Regions from separate parts of the Homo sapiens genome. Here region 2 is linked to region 1. Evidence: promoter capture Hi-C in 16 types of primary human blood cells and fetal thymus (Javierre and others, 2016). All regions are on one chromosome and are shown on one strand. Each heading gives the region's core, a stretch centred on a gene start or on the middle of the fragment in contact. The rest is flanking DNA. Distances are from core to core; before and after follow the strand shown.

What was found. The method cuts DNA at HindIII sites, captures the fragments that hold promoters and counts their contacts. A CHiCAGO score of 5 or more calls a contact.
Region 2: the fragment with the promoter of ZNF789 here is called in contact with a fragment that was not itself captured in region 1 in 2 of 17 cell types (erythroblasts and M1 macrophages); the score reaches 8.5 in erythroblasts.

What each region holds. Positions count from the first base shown.
Region 1 is chr7:99,915,439-99,918,351 of GRCh38, forward strand. All of the region lies in intron 1 of TRIM4 (tripartite motif containing 4), which reads right to left. Among named protein-coding and RNA genes, the nearest start is that of TRIM4, 2.6 kb to the right of the region's middle. The HindIII fragment of the contact is 1,169 bases long and covers 840-2,008 here.
Region 2 is chr7:99,471,453-99,474,365 of GRCh38, forward strand. It overlaps ZNF789 (zinc finger protein 789), which reads left to right and starts at 1,438. Exons shown (of 5, transcript NM_213603.3): 1 at 1,438-1,604. RefSeq lists enhancers at 678-837, 1,058-1,147, 1,438-1,727. The HindIII fragment of the contact is 10,687 bases long and covers 1-2,122 here.

The sequences.
Region 1 (2,913 bases), core at 174-2,673:
GCTATTTCTCTTTCTCTTTTCTCTTTTTCTCCCCTCACCATAACGGGTATAGGATGGGGATATTTTCCATGGATTTAGGGAACTTCCAGCTATCCAACTTTTAAAACACAGTCCATCCATCTGAGTATATGCTGAGAATGGGATGCTTGGAAATAAAGCAGCTTCACCCAGGGGCAGTTTATGTTTTTCTAACTAACTTGGGGTGGGGATGGAATGAAAGGTGGTTGAATAGGGCAGTGACTAAGCAGAGGAGGATGGAGAGATGGGCGGATATCAGGGAATTCCGCCCAGTGACCTGGCTCCTGAACACCTACGAAGTCAACCTTGTGACATTCAGCCCATCCCAGTGTAACCCTTACCCATCCACTCCTGTCCTGTTGGGCCATTGTGTTTAATCCTGAAATCCCACCTCTTCTAAGAAGTCTTCTCAGATTAGTTGTGGCAGAGTGAAAAGTGTAAAGGATTAGGGGTTAGAAGACCTCAGTTCAAGCATAGCCACTTCCTAGTTCTGTGACCTCGGGGGCATGTAACCTCACATCTCTGTGGCACAGTTGCCTCATCTTCAAAAAGGGAATAACAGAATCCACCTAATAGGATGTCTATGAAGATTAAAGAATTACAGTATGAAAAATGCTTAGAACTGTGGGTGGTACGTAAGAAGTAATGAACAACTGATAGCTATTACTGCTGAAGATGGAAGATTTAAGGGCTATGTTCCCCTTTCATACCCATCCACTTATATTTCCCTCGGCCCCCACCCACAAGTGTATTTTCCCTTCCATTTATCTGATGGGTCCTCTCCATGTCTTTTGCTGGCTACCAACCATTGGTGTTTCCCAAGCTTCTCTTTGTGCCTTTTTTTACTCTCTATGTGGTCCTCCTAGGAGAATCTCATCTTCTTACTTCTTCCATGACTTCAAGAACAGGCTGAGGATTCTAAAATATTATCTCTAGCCTCCAAGGCACCCCACCTCCTGTCCCTCTTCCTTGGACTTCCTGTCACAATTACTTCACACTCAGTACATTCCACAAGCATGGGATCTTCTGTCCTAAGACTACGCTTCCTCCTGTGTACCTTACCTCAGTTAACCTGACAGTCATCTACCTGCCATCTGAAGCAGAAATCTGAACTACCATCCAAGACTCCTCTCTCTCTCACCCACCAAGTCTAATTGATCACCAAGTCATTCAACTCCAGCTCATTATCACTCCATCCCTCCCTCTCCATCATCCCTGCCCTGAACTAATTCAGGTCTTTATTACCTCCTGCTTAAAATGGTACAAGAGCAGCCTAATTAGTCTTCTCTTCCATTCATCCACGTGGATGTCAAAGTTACCTGTCTAAAACAAAAAAAACGATCATATCATTCCCTGCCTTAAAACCCTTTTATAACTCCCCACTGCCTGAAAGAGAAAGTTCAATCTTTTTACTATGGCAAACAAGATCCTTCATGATAAGGCCCTGCCTTTTTCTTCAAGCTCATGGCCCACCATCCTCCTTCCCATGCTCCATGCTCCAGAAGTACTGAGCAACCTCCAGTCCTCTCACACACCACATGCTATCCCACTCCACCACATTTGGAATATGCTGTTCCTTTGGCCTGAAATACCTTCTTTCCTACCTCTACTCACCCTTGAAGAGCTAACACATTTAACTCCTCAACGGAGCCTTTCCTCACTCCTCAGTGATCACTCCGACCTCAGACCTTCTGTACACTTGGTAAATACTTCAGCTACTCTCACACACACTGAAATTAATGTTGTACACGCTTAAGTTCCTTACAAGACAAAGCCCATGTCTTTCTCATCCACTTATGTCCAGATTCTAAAACAATGTTTGGCAAATAGTAAGCATCAATAAACGTTACTGAGTGAAGGAATGAACATACACTTTCTAGTCCAGCTTTGTGTCTGTTTCCTGTTCATAGTCAGCTGGTACAACTGTACAGTATTTTACAGTTTCCAAACATTTTCACTGTGTCATTAAATTCATGTGTTTGGCCAGGAAAGCTTGCTCACGCCTGTAATCCCAGCACTTTGGGAGGCCAAGGTGGGTGGATCACCTGAGGTCAGGAGTTCGAGACCAGCCTGACCAACATAGTGAAACCCTGTCTTCACTAAAAATACAAAATTAGCTGGGCATGCTGGCAGGTGCCTGTAATCCCAGCTACTCGGTAAGCTGAGGCAGGAGAATCACTTGAACCCGGGAGGTGGAGGTTGCAGTGAGTTGAGATCTCACCACTGCATTCCAGCCTGGGCAACAAGAGCGAAACTCCATCTCAAAAACAATAATAATAAAATAAATAAATAAATTCATGTGTTCATGTACTTACTGCATATCAATTCTGCTGGAGACCACTGGAGTTACACCATCAGTAATGGGAGGGGGTGGGGCTACTCTGGAAAGGATGATCAGGGAAGGTCTTCAAGCTAAAAGCTAAAAGGATCTAAAGGATAGATGTGGGTAGAGAAAGAGAACAGACTTGAAACAAAAGCAAGAAAGCCAGTATGGCTGAAGCAGAGTAAGGTAAAGTGATTTATTCAACCGGAGCTTCTTAACCCATGAGATAGGACAGATAATCCCCAAATTCAAATGTTACAGGATTTTCCCAACTGATGAAGGAAGCTAGTAACAAAACCCAGCCTCATCATTACAAGCTAGGCTTTTCCCAAATCATCAGCTGTCTATGACATTTACAGATACAGACAGGCACTGTCCAATACAGTATCCATTTAGCCATACAAGCACCTGAAACGTGGATATTCCAAACTGCTATGTGTTGTAAATGTAAAATACACACCAATTTCAGACCTATTATGAAAAAGGAGTATAAAATATCTCATTGAGGCCGGGCGTGGTGACTCACACCTTAATCCCAGCACTATGGGAGGCCAAGCGGGGCAGATCACTTG
Region 2 (2,913 bases), core at 188-2,687, 440 kb before region 1:
CTGGGCCTTTTGGGGAGTCGGGGGTAAGGGGAGGGAACTTAGAGGATGGGTCAATAGGTGCAGCAAACCACCATGGCACATGTAACAAACCTGCACGTTCTGCACGTGTATCCTGTTTGTTTTGTTTTGTTTAGAAGAAATAAAAAACAAACAAAACTTGGGAGGCCAAGGCAGGCGGATCACTTGAGGTCAGGAGTTCGAGACCAGCCTGGCCAAAATGGTGAAACCCCGTCTCTACTAAAAACACACACACAAAAAAAATTAGCCGGGAGTGGTAGCGGGCGCCTGTAGTCCCAGCTACTCAGGAGGCTGACGCAGGAGAATGGCGTGAACCCGGGAGGCGGAGCTTGCAGTGAGCCGAGATCGCGCCACTGCACTCCAGCCTGGGCGAGAGCGAGACTGTCTCAAAAAAAAAAGAAAAAAAATTAACCCCTTACTCACATTAAAACTGTATTTTGGGGGTAATTTACATAAGCCACACAATTATCCTTTTAATTAAGATCTAATATTCTTTTTTTTTTTTTTGAGACAGAGTCTCGCTCTGTCGCCAGTCTGGAGTGCAGTGGTGGGATCTCGGCTCACTGCAAGCTCCGCCTCCCGAGTTCAAGTGATTCTCCTGCCTCAGCCTCCCGAGTAGCTGGCACTACAGGCACGCCGCCACCATGCCCAGCTAATTTTTTTTTTTTTTTTTTTTTTTTTGAGACGGAGTCTCGCTCTGTCACCCAGGCTGGAGTGCGGTGGCGCAATCTCGGCTCACCGCAACCTCCGCCTCCCGGGTTCAAGCGCTTCTCCTGCCTCAGCCTCCCGAGTAGCCGGGGTTACAGGCAGGCACCACCATGCCCGGCTAATTTTATTTGTATTTTTAGTAGAGACGGGTTTCTCCATTGTTGGTCAGGCTGGTATCGAACTCCCGACCTCAGGTGATCCACCCGCCTCGGCCTCCCAGAGTGCTGGGATTACAGGCGTGAGCCACCGCGCCCGGCAATTTTTTTGTATTTTTAGTAGAGAAGGGGTTTCACCATGTTGGCCAGGATGATCTAAATCTCTTGACCTGATCCGCCGGCCTCTGCCTCCCAAAGTGCTGGGATTACAGGCGTAAGCCACCGCGCCTGGCCCATTTTTCTTCTTTTATCTGATAACCTTACTCCCCTCCACAAACACACAGCCAAAGAAACGAATTGTGTCGCTCTTGAATCATAGAATAATTCTAAATTATGTTACGATTAAACAGGAGGGGCGGGGCCCTGTCCATCACGTGACTCTCTCGGTGCTGTCTCCGGCCGTTGATTGGCCTGGGCGGGGAGGGCGGCCGTTGATTGGTTCGGGCCCACTCGCGCGGGCGCCACTCTCTTTGTCTGACAAGAGAGTCGTGAAGCCTCCGCGGTCCTAGAGGGGCCGCTGGCTGGGACGCTTCGCTCGGCGCGCGCAGGTGGAGCCAGCGAGAGGCTCTGAGGCTGCCAGAGTGGTTGTGTCTGTTCCTCCGGTAAGGGGTGATTCGCCGAGGGGCGCGGACCAGACAGACCTCGGGTCAGGCCCGGGAACCCCGAGAGGAGAGCCCAGCCCCTGGTGGAGGCGGCTTGGCGGAGATTCGGAGCCGTCAGCAGGTTTGGGGAGAAGGAAACGAGTGTTGTGGGGGGCGTGGGTGCGGGGGGTAGGCCACTGCGCACACCCCCGGCTCGCAGGGGACGCTCCGGGTTTGTGCGGCGGCTCTCGGGGCCTGTGGCACCAGCTTTTGAGTATTTTTGGCGGTGTCAAGTCTTCGGCAGCGAGAGGAGCAAAGTCCGAAGAATGAATGGATGGTGAACGCCTGGACTTGGTTTTGTTAGAGTGGGAGATGAGCCGTGGTTGTTAGTGGAAGGTGTTCACGTGATTGTGAAGCGGCATTTTGGATTTTGTCAAAAGTTAACAGTCCCCTCCAGTTAAAGTTTTAAGAGTTTATTGTGCATGCAGAGGAACAGCTGGCAAATTGTTCCAATGGCAGCTTGGAAAGCTAAATGAGGAAGTGCAGTGATCTTGATTGTAATTGGCCATTATCAACTTGCATTCCTTCTAGGGTAAGTCGAGCTGGATCAGCCTCGCATCTGTAGCTGATTGGTTCAGTTTATCATGCGGACGAGAAAAAAGCTTCTTTCCTGGTCAGCGCACACTTTTCAGGGAAATAAGGAATTGTTGTTGCTGTTGTGTTTGAGACGAAGTGTTACTCTGTTGCCCAGTTTGGAGTACAATGGGCCAATCTCGACTCACTGCAACCTCCAACTCCCGGGTTCAAGCGATTCTCCTGCCTCAGCCTCTCGAGTAGCGGGGACTACAGGCACGCGCCACCATGCCCGGCTAATTTTTGTATTTTTAGTGGAGACTGGGTTTCACTATGTTGGCCAGGCTGGTCTTGAACTCCTGACCTCATGATCCGCCCGCCTCGGCCTCCCAAAGTGCTGGGATTTACAGGTGTGAGCCACCACGCCCGGCCTGTTGTTTTTAAGAGAGACAGGGTCTTGCTCTGTCACCCAGGGTGGAGTGTAGTGGTGCCATCATAGCTCATTGCAGTCTCCAACTCCTGAACTCAAGGGAGAAATCAATGTATTTTAAATGCCTTACATGGCTGTGGGTGGTTGGCCTAGGGCCGTACCCAAAACATGGACTCCATTTAATTTTTCATTAGCAAGTCTGACATTCAGATGCACAGCCTTCACAAACACATTCAGTAAATATAGTGCAGGGGTGTCCAATCTCTTGGCTTCCCTGGGCCACATTGGAAGAAGAATTGTCTTGGACTACACATAAAATACACAAACACTAAAAATAGCTCATGAGCTAAAAAAAAATCGCAAAACAATTTCATAAGGTTTTAAGAAAGTTTACGAGCCGGGCGCGGTGGCTCACGCCTGTAATCCCAGCACTTTGGGAGGCCAAGGC